Linked DNA regions of Homo sapiens: region 1 is linked to region 2. Evidence: promoter capture Hi-C in 16 types of primary human blood cells and fetal thymus (Javierre and others, 2016). All regions are on one chromosome and are shown on one strand. The core of a region is centred on a gene start or on the middle of the fragment in contact, and the rest is flanking DNA. Distances in the headings are between cores, read along the strand shown. Region 1 overlaps HNRNPC (heterogeneous nuclear ribonucleoprotein C). Region 2 holds the start of DCAF11 (DDB1 and CUL4 associated factor 11).

The links. The method cuts DNA at HindIII sites, captures the fragments that hold promoters and counts their contacts. A CHiCAGO score of 5 or more calls a contact.
Region 1: a fragment that was not itself captured here is called in contact with the fragment with the promoter of DCAF11 in region 2 in 1 of 17 cell types (total CD8 T cells); the score reaches 5.4 in total CD8 T cells.

The regions. Positions count from the first base shown.
Region 1 is chr14:21,253,341-21,260,029 of GRCh38, forward strand. All of the region lies in intron 2 of HNRNPC (heterogeneous nuclear ribonucleoprotein C), which reads right to left. Among named protein-coding and RNA genes, the nearest start is that of HNRNPC, 13 kb to the right of the region's middle. RefSeq lists an enhancer at 970-1,907. The HindIII fragment of the contact is 3,616 bases long and covers 2,289-5,904 here.
Region 2 is chr14:24,113,423-24,119,869 of GRCh38, forward strand. It overlaps DCAF11 (DDB1 and CUL4 associated factor 11), which reads left to right and starts at 1,355. Exons shown (of 15, transcript NM_025230.5): 1 at 1,355-1,871; 2 at 1,960-2,327; 3 at 3,495-3,622; 4 at 3,844-3,971; 5 at 4,246-4,310; 6 at 4,633-4,733; 7 at 4,966-5,112; 8 at 5,328-5,382; 9 at 5,723-5,791; 10 at 6,137-6,194; 11 at 6,289-6,447. The coding sequence starts at 2,173. NRL (neural retina leucine zipper) reads right to left here and starts at 1,527. Exons shown (of 3, transcript NM_001354768.3): 1 at 1,300-1,527. RefSeq lists enhancers at 608-1,323, 905-1,044, 1,285-1,434. The HindIII fragment of the contact is 1,852 bases long and covers 763-2,614 here.

The DNA of each region.
Region 1 (6,689 bases), core at 2,847-5,346, 2.9 Mb before region 2:
CTGGATGCCTGTAGTCCCAGCTACTCCAGAGGCTGAGGCAGTAGAATGGCGTGAACCCAGGAGGCGGAGCTTGCAGTGAGAGAGATCACGCCACTGCACTCCAACCTCTAGACTCCATCTCAAAAAAAAAAAAAAAAAAAAAAAAGATAGCACCAAAGATGTGCATGCACCTGAAAACAAAAATTACATGTGAATCTCAAACTATACACAGAAATATAGACAACATTGTATCAATGTTTCACTCAAAATCTATCAACATTTTTACTATTCAACTTAAAAACTTAGCAAATCCTTCAGAATAATACAGGGTCAAATCTTAAAGCAAAAGATCCAAAGTAATTCACAAAACTAGAAATTAAGTATTAGTGGCCGCTAACACTGCCAATAAATTGCTAAACTTATTAGCTTCTGGAGAACAAACTTAAGAACTTTTTAAAATGTGCGGCCAGGCGCGGTGGCTCAGGCCTGTAATCCCAGCACTTTGGGAGGCTAAGGCGGGCAGATCACGAGGTCAGCAAATCGACACCATCCTGGCTAACACGGTGAATCCCCGTCTCTACCAAAAAAAAATTAAAAAATTAGCTGGGTGTGTTGGCACGCACCTATAGTCCCAGCTACTCAGGAGGCTGAGGCAGGAGAATGGCATGAACCCGGGAGAGGGAGCTTGCAGTGAGACCATGCCACTGCACTCCAGCCTGGGCTAGAGTGAGATTCCGTCTCAAAAAAAAAAAAAAAAAAAGTGCATACTCTGCCCACCTCCCCGGCAAAAAAGATGTGCATACCCTTGAATAATTATATTTCTGGGGCTTAAATGTAAGAAAATAAAGATATGCACAACTGTAGTTTTGACTGTCCAAAGCTTTGTTTACAAAAGAAAAAATGGGGACGAGTACAACAGTGTATTGGTAAAATAAAATATAGTACAAGTATACAATGTACCATGTAGTATTATAGAGTATATAATACTATGTAACTACTACAAATTTTTCAGAGATCTGTATCTACTAACATAAGCTATTCAGGTTAAATTTAAAATTATTACTTAAATATATATGCTGTATGACAGTGCTTTTTGAAGTTTATATAAGCCCCAAAAAGCCTGGAAGAACACCCCAAATGTTATCTTTGGATAGCTGTATTTTCTAAAAATGTTCTATGAGCATGTATTACTTTATTCGGATCAAAGGTAAGATAAAGATGAGGTACCTCCTCTCCCAAATCCACATCAATCTTCAGTCACTTGACTAGTATTCCTTTTCAAAGGAGTAATAAAACTCCATTTTAGCAAGCTGCGGTGGCTCACGCCTGTAATCCCAGCACTTTGGGAGGCCGAGATGGGCGGATTGCCTGAGGTCGCGAGTTCGAGACCAGCCTGGCCAGCATGGTGAAACCCTGTCTCTTGTAAAAATACAAAAATTAGCCAGGCGTGGTGGCAGGCGCCTGTAATCCCAGCTACTCGGGAAGCTGAGGCAGGAGAATCACTTGAATCCGGGAGGCGGAGGTTGCGGTAGGCGGAGGTTGCGGTGAGCCAAGATCGTGCCATTGCACTCCAGCCTGGGCAACAGAGCGAGACTCTAGTCTCAAAAAAAAAACAAAAAAAAAAACCAGAAAAACTCCATTTTAAACAGCATAGCCATAACTCTAGCATGAATTCCACAAACTTAAGGGTAATAGCATGAGAAAACTTTTCTTCTCGCTCTGAAGCTAGAAAACCCACTTATGTGAAGATTTTATTTAAAGGATCAATATAGGGAGTGACAATGCATTATGAATAGTTTATCCTCTTCAGAATACCTATTTTAGTTAGAGGACTGGAGGAAAATTTTTGTTCAAAATGTACTCTACTAAACTCCTAAATGTTATTCAAGACTAGCCAGAAAAGCCTAAATCTGGTTCAATGAACTCCTGGAGTTTTTTCAGTTTTAAAATCAACTCAGGAGCCATAGGTCAATATAATTAGAAAACAGGAAGAATATTTCAGACTGGTAAAGTCAGAATCAGATTAGGTAGAAATAATAAAAAAAAAGTTCTCTAATTCACTCTACCTCTTACAAATAGCCATGCTTTCTCAGTAGAGAATACATATTTTTAAAATGGTCAAGCTCTCCCAAATGTTGATACAGGCAACACGGTAGTCTATGTGCTCAAATGCTAACTCGACTCTATCACAGCTAAACCTTTTAAAGCAGTTTCTTCAACTATTAACACTGCTTACTAAACCCCTATTACACAGACTAGCTATGCTATTTATGCCCACACAGAATCACAAGAGTTGATGTACATTTTTAAGCTTTTTAATTAGAAGGAAAATACTACCACATTGATCATTATAATAGTCTTAAGCACATAGTACACAAGTTTCAAATCTCCTAAATCCCACTTCTTGCCCAGAGGCAATCAATGTTAATTGTTTGGCATATGTATTTCTGGACATATCTCTTATGTCTTTACATAGAAAAAAACAAATTCTACAGTTGGTGATAAGTGCTAAAGAGTATTTAGGAGAAGGGGAGCTTAAAGCGCTAAATAAGGGAAGACACATCACTAAGGGGGTAGCTTCTGAGTAAAAAGTCTCAGAGGAACTGAGGAACCAAACTGTATGAGTCAGAGAAAATTCCAAGGAAAAGCCCTAAAGTGGAAACATATCCAATGTGTTCAATACAGTTAAGAAGGCCAGTGTGGCTGAAGCACAGTATATTAACAGCAAGGGAAGGGACACAACAAATCACGTGGGATGCCCTGTAAATCACAGAAAAATTTTTGACTTCAATGCTGAAAAAGGCAGCCATTAGGTTGTTTGTTTTCAGGCAAAACATTTTTCAATGGCCAGGCGTGGTGGATCACGCCTGTAATCCCAGCACTTTGGGGAGGCAGAGACGGGCAGATCACAAGGTCAAGAAATCGAGACTATCCTGGCCAACATGGTGCAACCCTGTCTCTACTAAAAATAAAAAACAAATTAGCTGGGCTTGGTGGCTGGTGCCTGTAATCCCAGCTACTTGGAAGGCTGAGGCAGGAGAACTGCTTGAACCCGGGAGGCAGAGGTTGCGGTGAGCCGAGCTCGCACCACTGCACTACAGCCTGGGCAAAGAGAGCAAAACTCCATCTCCCCCCCAAAAAAAAAATCCTTCAAACAATACATTTTAGGATCAATCTAGCTATCACTTTTAAGAACAAAACTAGTGGGGAGGGACAAAAGAAATACAAACCTATTATATATAATAATGCACAGGAGACAAGGGTGGCTTGAAATTGGACCAAGTGTCGACAGTATGAGTAGTGGTATATTTTGAAGAGCTGACAGCATTTTTTCCTTTCTTTTTTTTGTGATAGGGTCTTGCTCTGTCACCCAGGCTGGAGTGCAATGGTGCGGGTGCGATCTCGGCTCACTGCAACCTCTGCTTCCTGGGCTCAAGCGATTCTCATGCCTGTCTCTCAAGTAGCTGGGACTACAGACACTTGCCACCACTCCTGGCTAATTTTTGTATATTTTTGAAGAGACAGGGTTTCACCATGTTGCCCAGGCCGGTCTCAAACCCCTGAGCTCAAGCGATGCGCCTCCCTCAGCCTCCCAAAGTGCTGGGATTACAGGCCTGAGCTACCACACCTGGCCAACATGATTTTCTAATAGGCCAAAGGTGAGAAGAGTAAAAGTCAAGGATGGCTAGCCAAAATCTTTGGCCCAAGAGACACAAAAATTGTTTCATTAACTGAAAAAGGCAACAGTACACAAGAGACTGGTTTGAGGCATGAACATCAGGAGCACAGTTTTGCACTTTTAAGTTGACATATTGGATATTCAACAGAGTTGTCATGCAGGTAAACTGAATTGGTATGACATTCGAAAGAAAAGTATAGGCTGTTGATCTTAAGTGTCGAAATCAGCTTATAGGTGGTATATTACATCATGAATGAATCTGAATGAAATTGGACCCAGAGTGTGGACAGAAAAGAGAAGTGGAAGGACTGAACCATGGGGCACTCCAACAGAAAGAAGTTTAACATGTAACAGAAACATGTAACAAAAACCTGGAAGCAAAGTAAAAAAAAAATAAAAACGTTTCAAGGAAGAGATCTGGTTAAATGGAACCAACAGGTCAAGTGAGATGAGGATTGAAAAAGGACCCCTGGGCTTAGTTAATGCATCCGTCTCCGTGGTTCTTTTTTAACCACAAATAATTTTTTTCTAACTGAAGTTCACTTCGGTTTTATAAGTCTTAGAAAAAAAAAAAAGATAGCTCACTTTTGTTTTTTTACTTTAAGAGATAGGGTCTCACTCTTGTCACCCAGGCTGGAGTACAGTGGCGCAATCATAACTCACACTGACCTCAAACTCCTGAACTCAATTAATTCTACCGCCTCAGCCTCCCAGGGAGCTACACTACAGCTGTGTGCCACCGTGCCCAGCTTTTTGTAGACAGGCTCTTGCTATGTTGCCAGACTTTCCTGGCCTTAAGCTATCCTCCAACTTCAGCCTCCCAAAGTGCTGGGATTATAGGCATAAACTGCTGCAACTGGCCTAAAGCTCACTTTTAAAATGTGCTTGCTTCCCTATTAACAATGCCATCACAACCATGGTAACATTTTACCAAGATACATCTACCTAAACATTAACTACCTTGCACATATACACATCTTTAAGCCATTTAAGGTGTTGGGAAATCAAGGGCAAAAATATAAACATATTTAGTTTTAAAATTTTAATAATAAAAGTCCAAAGTTGTTCTTTGGAACTTTAACCAAACTAAAATCTGTTTTTCTAGAATGCTCAGCCGGACACAGTGGCTCACGCCTGTAATCCCAGCACTTTGGGAAATCGAGGTGGGCGGATCACGAGGTCAGGATTTCTAGACCAGCCTGGCCAACATGGTGAAACCCCATCTCTACTAAAATATAAAAATTAGCTGGGTGTGGTGGTGCATGCCTGCAATCCCAGCTACTCAGGAGGCGGAGGCACAAGAATCGCTTGAACCCAGGAGGCGGAGGTTGCAGTGAGCCAGAGATCATGCCACTGCACTCCAGCCTGGTGACAGAGCGAGACTATGTCTCAAAAAAAAAAAAAAGTTCAACATATCAAAGTGACGAAAGGAGTCTACTATCATTAAGTGTTGAAATCTGCACCCTTAATCCCAGGGTTGAATCCATGCTAAACCACTAAAGCAGTTTAACTTTAGGCAAGTTATTTAAATTCTGTACTCCAATATTCTCACCTCTAAAACATGAATAACAGTATCTACTCCTACTCAAGGTTTTGATGATGATTAAGTTAACACAAACTCACAACTTTAACAGTGTTGGACATAGTCAAGTGTTTAGAATACTTCCATAAATTAATGTCCTGCTACTTTTTTCTGCCAAATCAGAAAGCCATTATATGACCCAACAAGGTATCAGAAATAATTAGTAATTTCCTGGAGCCTCATCAGTTCTCAACCTATCTTACTCAGACTGATTTTGCTCATTAATACACCCAATAAAAACTCATTTGAAAAACCAGGGCAAGTTATTGTTAGGCTTGGGATGATTATTTTCTTCAAGAGATTGAGACAGTGGCCTACTCTAATAGGTCTCCAAACTTACTGCCCTACTTGCCCTCTTAGTTCTCATCACTAATATTCCCTACACAACAGAAGATAAACCAGACCTCTTCTTCAAAATCCTTCAATAGATTCTACTTGTGCCCAAGACAGGATCTTAAACAAGACCCTCTAAGGTCCCGTGCTATGAAATGTTTGGTCCTTGCCTACCTCTCTAACTCCATCCCTCATCTATGTATTCTTGGTAATTATTTTCCAGTATTATTTCTTACTTGGAGGCCAAGTCTTGTTCCCCCTCATTATCTGTGCTTTCACATATGGTTTTCTTACAGAATGAGCTTCACCATTAGCTACTTCCACGTAGCTAAGCTTCCCTGGCAGCATCCCCCAAATTCCATGTTCTAATTTTGGTTCCCTTGCCATCTTCTCATCCACGCTCTTCTTTTCCTTCATCGATCCTTACTGTGAAAAGTGCCATTTACTTTGTTTCTTCCCTCAATGATCTATAATATCTAAGAGGGCAGGGGACATGTTTTGTTCATCCCTATATGCCCAAACCTAATGATTTTCAAATAGTACTCAGATACTTAATAAAACATCTTATACTTGAATGTTCCTTGAATACCTCCAAGATGTTTAAAATATTCTTTTTCCCACCCTCAAACTATAATCTGCTCCCTTCATTCATTCCCCAATATCTATCCCTATCCCAGAAGCTAGAAACCAGCAATCATGCCAAATCTGTGTTCTTGTCCACCTTATCACATCCATCCTGAGATGCTCCTAATTTTACCTCCTAATCTCTAATCTCATAGCATTACCTTTGTCCAAGCCAGGTCGTTATTCTTTCTTGGATTTTAATATCTCCTTTATTAATCTCCTACTTCCAATCTCATTTCCTCTACACCATTTCCATACTGTTATTAGAAAGACATTCCTAAAAATTAAAATCTTCCAGGAGTTTTTGAGACCAGCCTGGGAAACAAAATGAGACCTGTCTCCACCAAAAAAAAAAAAAAACAATAAAAAATAGTCAGGTGGGCCGGGCGCGGTGGCTCACGCCTGTAATCCCAGCACTTTGGGAGGCCGAGGCGGGCGGATCACGAGGTCAGGAGATCGAGACCATCCCGGCTAAAACGGTGAAACCCCGTC
Region 2 (6,447 bases), core at 105-2,604:
AAATCAATCAATAAATAAAGATCCCGATTTTCCAGGCTGGATAACCCAGAAACCACGGAATCCTAAAGTCTCAATAAACGTTAAAGCACAGATAGTAAGTAATCTGGCAATAGAGGATGGGCGCCCAGCAGACCGCCTACATAATCAGTGGAGCCGAGTGCAAGATGAAAATACCAGGCACTTGCTTTAAAATTACTAATAATTTCAAGACCGTTAACACTAGAACATTAAACCAAACATTCAGGACCCTTCTAAGCGCAGAGGCCATCAAAGCTAGCCCTGGTGACAAGCTCAGGTCTCCGGATCTAGAGACTAGGAGACGTCGCCCGAAAGCTGGCCAAACCCTCGCCCTCACTGGGAGAGGCCCCAGGAGGGCCCAAGAAGGCCACGAGCCCTCGCTCCCATCCCTGCCCTCAGGAGCGGGCGGAGGGAAGCTCGCAGCTTTCCCAAGGAAGTGCAGGCTGCAGGGAATGAAGTTCAGCTCGGACCCTGAGCCTCTGAGCCCGAGACAGCAAGGTCATTCAACCCACACGTCCCCACCCAGCCAGGGCGAGGATCAGAGATGTGGCAACTCCCGGCCTTGGACTCAGGCTTGTTACTCATAAACCCGCAGGAGGGGGCAGGAGGGGGCAGGAGGCGGCGAGCGCGCACCCTGGACCCGCGGCCGGGGGCGGAGAGGCACCGCGAGGACAGAGGGACTAGCGAAGGTCTGCAAATCCCGGAGGGCCAAGGGAGCGTCAAAGGGGACAGCGGAACCGGAAAAGCTTTGACAGAAAGACGCGTGTATTAGGGAACGTCTGCAAAGACCGCGGCGGAAAGCCAGGGATTGTCTTAAAAAATTGTCAGACCGGATAAAGGGAGGTCTAAAAGGGGACCGTCCCAAGAGCAAGGCTTCCAAAAGCTAAGCCCGGAAGGACGGTATGGAGGTCTACTGGGACGCTGGGCACCCCTTAGGGCAGAACCGACTGGAGCTGCGGCCAGCGACAGAAGAACGGCTCCAGCTGGACAGGGGAAGCAGTGGGGAGAAAGGAGGCCCTTGGGCACTGTCTGAAAAGTGCGATGCCAAATGATCTTTAGGGACAGACAGTAAATTATATCCCTTGCTAAAATACCTCTCGGTAGCGAACCACCAAACGTTTCTTTTTTAAGCCCCGCCTCTCAGCCGTTACGCCTAGTTCGGCTGTCTCTGATTCAGGAAGCTGGCAGTTCCCACTTACTCCTCCCCAGCAAGAGCTAACAGCCCTCCTTGGGTGTGCACTTTCTCCTCCCCTCAGGCACCTCGCGCATTCTCCCGCCTACCTATCAATCATCGTGCTCCGCTGTCCAGTTGGCTGGCCAAGGGGGCGGGGCCGTCGTGTGACGTTTGCAGCCCGCCGGCCAGGAAGCCGCGAGATGCGTGACGAGCGAAGCGCGTGACGGAGGAGCGGTTGGCCAACGCAGTGGCGGCAGTCGGTGTAAACAAGGCCTCGCGCCGCTGCGGGTCCTGCGACCGCTCCTGGCTGGTGGGTGGTCTCGCGTGGGGCGGTTACCGCCGGCTTCAGTGGGAGGTGCTTCTCGGCTTCCTCCCCCTCATGGCGTACACACCCCCGGCGCACCACGTGGGCGTGAGGCGAGGAAGGAGGGGTGTTAGGCCAAATTCTATTTTCATTGGCTGTCACTGCTGCCGGCCTTTGTAAGGGGGCGCTCTGATTGGTCGATAAGGTGGGGGCGTCGAGGGTCTTTGAGTCCTAAGGCTTCTAATTGGTTAGATGAGATAAGCTAGTGAAGCGCTTTCTTCCGAGAGGGATTTCGATTGGTCGGTCAGAGAGGTTACCTGGAAATCCAACACCGCCCAACACCCCTCCCGCTCCCCAGTCCGGGGACTTCGATAGGTGAGTTTGGTGTAGAAAACAAATCTTTCTTCAGTTGGTGAGCTAGGGTAGCGCACTACGGTTCACTCTTGCTTTCTTTGCTTCACAGGATTGGAGAAGGTTTGTGTTCCCGACGCCTTGGTAGTTGGCATAGGCTAAAGAAAAGGGATCTCAGCCCCGAGGAAGGGTCACCCTCCTAGAGATAGCTACTACCCCGTCTCAGGAGACCCTGGTATTTCTAGAGCACGCTTTGCTTTCACCAAACCCAAGGAGGTGACAGGAGGAGCCCCCGCACAGGACCTAAGAATGCTGTGACCAGAAGATGGGATCGCGGAACAGCAGCAGTGCAGGATCCGGGTCCGGAGACCCCTCCGAGGGCTTGCCCCGAAGAGGGGCTGGCCTGCGTCGGAGTGAGGAAGAGGAAGAAGAGGATGAAGATGTGGATCTGGCCCAGGTACTGGCCTATCTCCTCCGCAGGTAACTTACCCTCTGGTGTGACCCCCAGCAGGTGCTACCACAGTGCCTTGATCCCAACTCCAGGCAGGAAAATTACAGAGGTTAGGAAATGGGATTCGCTCAGGACAGCTGTTCTGTTTGAGCTGAACAGCCTTTCCCTGCTGGGCACCCATGGCACTCAGCTCCATACCCAGTAAGAGTGGTTCTTACCTAGGGAGGGTCACCAAGAGGACCTGCTCATGTGTTTGAGGGGCTATTCAAGGGAGCCTGTCTCTGTGACTACACAAATATAGTCTATTTTCCAAGTAAGCTTGAAAAAAAAAAGGGGGGGGTCCTAGTGGGAAAGGAGTGATGTAAGGGGTGAAGAGATGGGAAGGGAGTGTTGAACTTTTTAGTAAGGCAGTTGACACATGATATGAGGCCACTTCGATTTACTTGAAAAACAAGTTTAATTTGCCCTGACTCTAACCTGTTCTTGAGGAAAGAATGCCTTGAAGGGAGAGACCACCTGGAATTGACTGGAAAAGGGTGCAGCTGGCTTTCTTTCTTTGCTTATGGCTCTTTGAGGAGAAGATGGGTTTGGGGGTCCCTTCAGAATATTGTATTCTTTTTTGTTTGTGTTTTGTGTTGTTTTTAGTAGACATAGACAGGGCTCACTGTGTTCCCCAGTCTGGAGAACGGGCTATTCACAGGTGTGATCAAGTGCACACCACAGCCTGCAACTCCTGGGCTCAAGCAATCCTTGCCTCCCAGGTAGCTAAGACTACAGTTGCACACACCACCGCACCCAGCTTAGAATATTGTCTTCTGTGGTGGACTTCTCAGGCAGAGGCTCAGAAGGAAATGCTGTGAGGATGTTTAGCTTGTTGGGAGGTCAACTTAGTAGGTCATGTCCACAGCGTATTGGTCTTGCTCTTGTTCTAAGGAAATGATGTTAGAATGTTTAGCTCGCTGGGAGGTCAACTTAGTAGGTCACGTCCACAGCATGTTGGTCTTGCTCTTGCTGTAAGAGTAAAACTCTCTTTCCTACTGTGTTTTATAGGAGACCAAAAATAACAGCCAAGGTCTAGTCAGCCTCAAACCTCAAAATGAGTACCAAGTGGTCTAAGAGCTAGATAGCCATTGACTCTGAATTTGGTTGGTTTGGGGGAAGAAGTCCCCTCCTTTATAATGGGGGTCTCTCCACAGAGGCCAAGTGAGGTTGGTGCAGGGAGGAGGTGCAGCAAATTTACAATTCATTCAGGCCCTCTTGGACTCAGAGGAAGAGAATGACAGAGCTTGGGATGGTCGTCTTGGGGATCGATACAACCCACCTGGTAAGAGGAAAAGCCCCTAATGTTGGAAGACTTTTACTAGAAAACCTTTTAGTGATATTTTGAATGATAGGTTACATTGAAAGAAGGTACGATAATTTAAGGAATAAGGAGTCCTTACAGCCCCAGTATATTCAGCCACAGGGGTGGGCTTGGGTACAGTTCTGCTAACTGTCCTCTGAGGCTGGCAGACCTAGGATGAAACTTCTCCTTGGTACTCACAGTGGATGCTACCCCTGACACCCGGGAGCTGGAATTCAATGAGATCAAGACACAAGTGGAACTGGCCACAGGGCAGCTGGGGCTTAGGCGGGCCGCCCAGAAGCACAGCTTTCCTCGAATGTTGCACCAGGTAGGCCTCTCCACCTCCCAGCCTGGCAGCAGGCCTGCCAAAGCAGCCAGAAGCTCTGCCAGCCCCAGAGAAAAAGGAAGTCAACTTTCCAAAGTAGAAGCCTCAAGCGCTGGGGCTGGAGAGTTAACCAGCCTCCATCGGAGTTCTGTGGGACAGACTATGATGTGTGTGTCCATTTCTATAACAAGAGCAATATCTTTGGAGGAGGGGGCTTGATATGGCTGAAGTGGCCCTCTATTTCTGCTAGCAATATTCCCCAATCCCTTCCATTTAGAGAGAACGGGGCCTCTGCCATCGGGGAAGCTTCTCCCTTGGAGAACAGTCTCGAGTGATATCTCAGTGAGTATGGGGCTTGGTGAAGAGACTCTAAGGGCCAGATAGGTCTTATCTCCTAAACTTTGAAGGGGTAGGTGTTAAAGGAGCCTCAGAGATATTAAAGGTTAGGTTAAATGGGGTTGAAACTTTGAGAGTAAACAAAGTAGAAAAGTGTAGAAAATTGTAGAAATTTAGAGGATGGTGGAATGGTTGAAAGACGGGATTGCACTCACAGCCAAAAGGGAAGAATGACTGTTCTGATATTCCAGCTCTGTTAGGATTCTGCTGATTGGGACACTCCTTATCCTGAGCACCCCTCACCCTCACTTTCTCTCTCCTTCCCTAGCTTCTTGCCCAATGATCTGGGCTTCACTGATAGCTACTCTCAGAAGGCTTTCTGTGGCATCTACAGCAAAGATGGTCAAATATTCATGTCTGCTTGCCAAGGTACCAGACCCTGGTCCTATAAACTATCTTTTCCTGGAACATGGGACATTCCCCCTGACTGAGGCTAGAAAGCCACAGACGGGGAGCTCAGACCTGGCTTAAGGATGCTTAGCCAGACCATGTTTCCCATGATAAAGGGAAGACTCCACAGGTACACTGAGTGGGAGATGTCTAATCTAGAAAAGTTACAAGGAAACTGTCCCATAATTCTGCCTGATCTTTACTTACACAGACCAGACAATCCGACTCTATGACTGCCGATATGGCCGTTTCCGTAAATTCAAGAGCATCAAGGCCCGCGACGTAGGCTGGAGCGTCTTGGATGTGGCCTTCACCCCTGATGGGAACCACTTCCTCTACTCTAGCTGGTCTGATTACAGTGAGTATGCACCAGGCTTCCACTGACTCTCCAGCCTGGGACCTGAGGTTTCCATGTGCCTGTCCCCTCTGAGCCAGGATCCCTCACTTTGTCCTGGGAAAATCACTCCCAAAGTGCTCCAGTACCCTTGTCCCCTGTTTGATCTCTTCCCTAGCTTCACTTCCACTCTTCTTCCCCCATCCCTGAAAGATTCTTGTTTTTCTTGCTTCTCTTAGTTCATATCTGCAATATCTATGGTGAGGGAGATACACACACTGCCCTGGATCTCAGGTACTGGCTTCCCTTTCTGGTCAGACTCATCAGAAACTTCTCAAGGGAAGCTCTTTGGGAGCAAACCTCTTGAGTTGGAAGTTCTGTTTAGGGGAAAAAGTATACTGGTGGGTCTGTGTGCATTCCTGGGAGGGAAGCACCATCTTGTCAGCCAGAGGACTGGGTAAAATAGATGGTTGCAGGATGATTTCTGGGTTCTCACTGAGCATCTGCATTATGGTGCATGTTAGCCAGACTTCTTTTTTCCCCTGGGGATGTGCCTTACAACCGTTGTCAGATTTTATGTAGATTAACAAAAGCTGAAGGAAGTCCACTTAACCCAGCTCCTTCTTGCTTTTAGGCCAGATGAGCGTCGCTTTGCTGTCTTCTCCATTGCTGTCTCCTCAGATGGACGAGAAGTACTAGGAGGGTAAGTGCTTGTGGGGTATGTTTCCCTCAATAACAAGATGGGGGTTCTGCCAGAGATGAGTTCTGCTGTTACACAGATGGCACTGGCAGCTGCAGAGAACAACCAGACCTTCTCCCAAGGTCAGGATTTACAAGTTGCTTCACCCCTTGCTCTCCATTTCCCCAGCACGAGATTGGAGGTGTCAAGCCTCCTTGAAACACAGCTAACTCTTCCCCCACTTCCTGTATAAAAAGAGCAAAGGGCTTGACCCAGAGCAGGATTTCTCAGTGGAACTCTCTAGAGCATATACCACGTTGGTCCTCTCGATCATGGCTCCAGGACCCTCCTTTATCCCTTCCCTTTCAGGGCCAATGATGGCTGCCTGTATGTCTTTGACCGAGAACAGAACCGGCGCACCCTTCAGGTATGGCTCCTGAGATAGAGCCTCTGCCTCCTGGTTTTTGGCTTTTTATAAGACCTAGAAAGAGGTCTTATATCCTGGCCTCCTTTTCGCCTAGATTGAGTCCCATGAGGATGATGTGAATGCAGTGGCCTTTGCTGATATAAGCTCCCAAATCCTGTTCTCTGGGGGAGATGATGCCATCTGCAAAGTGTGGGATCGACGCACCATGCGGGAGGATGACCCCAAGCCTGTGGGTGCACTGGCTGGACACCAG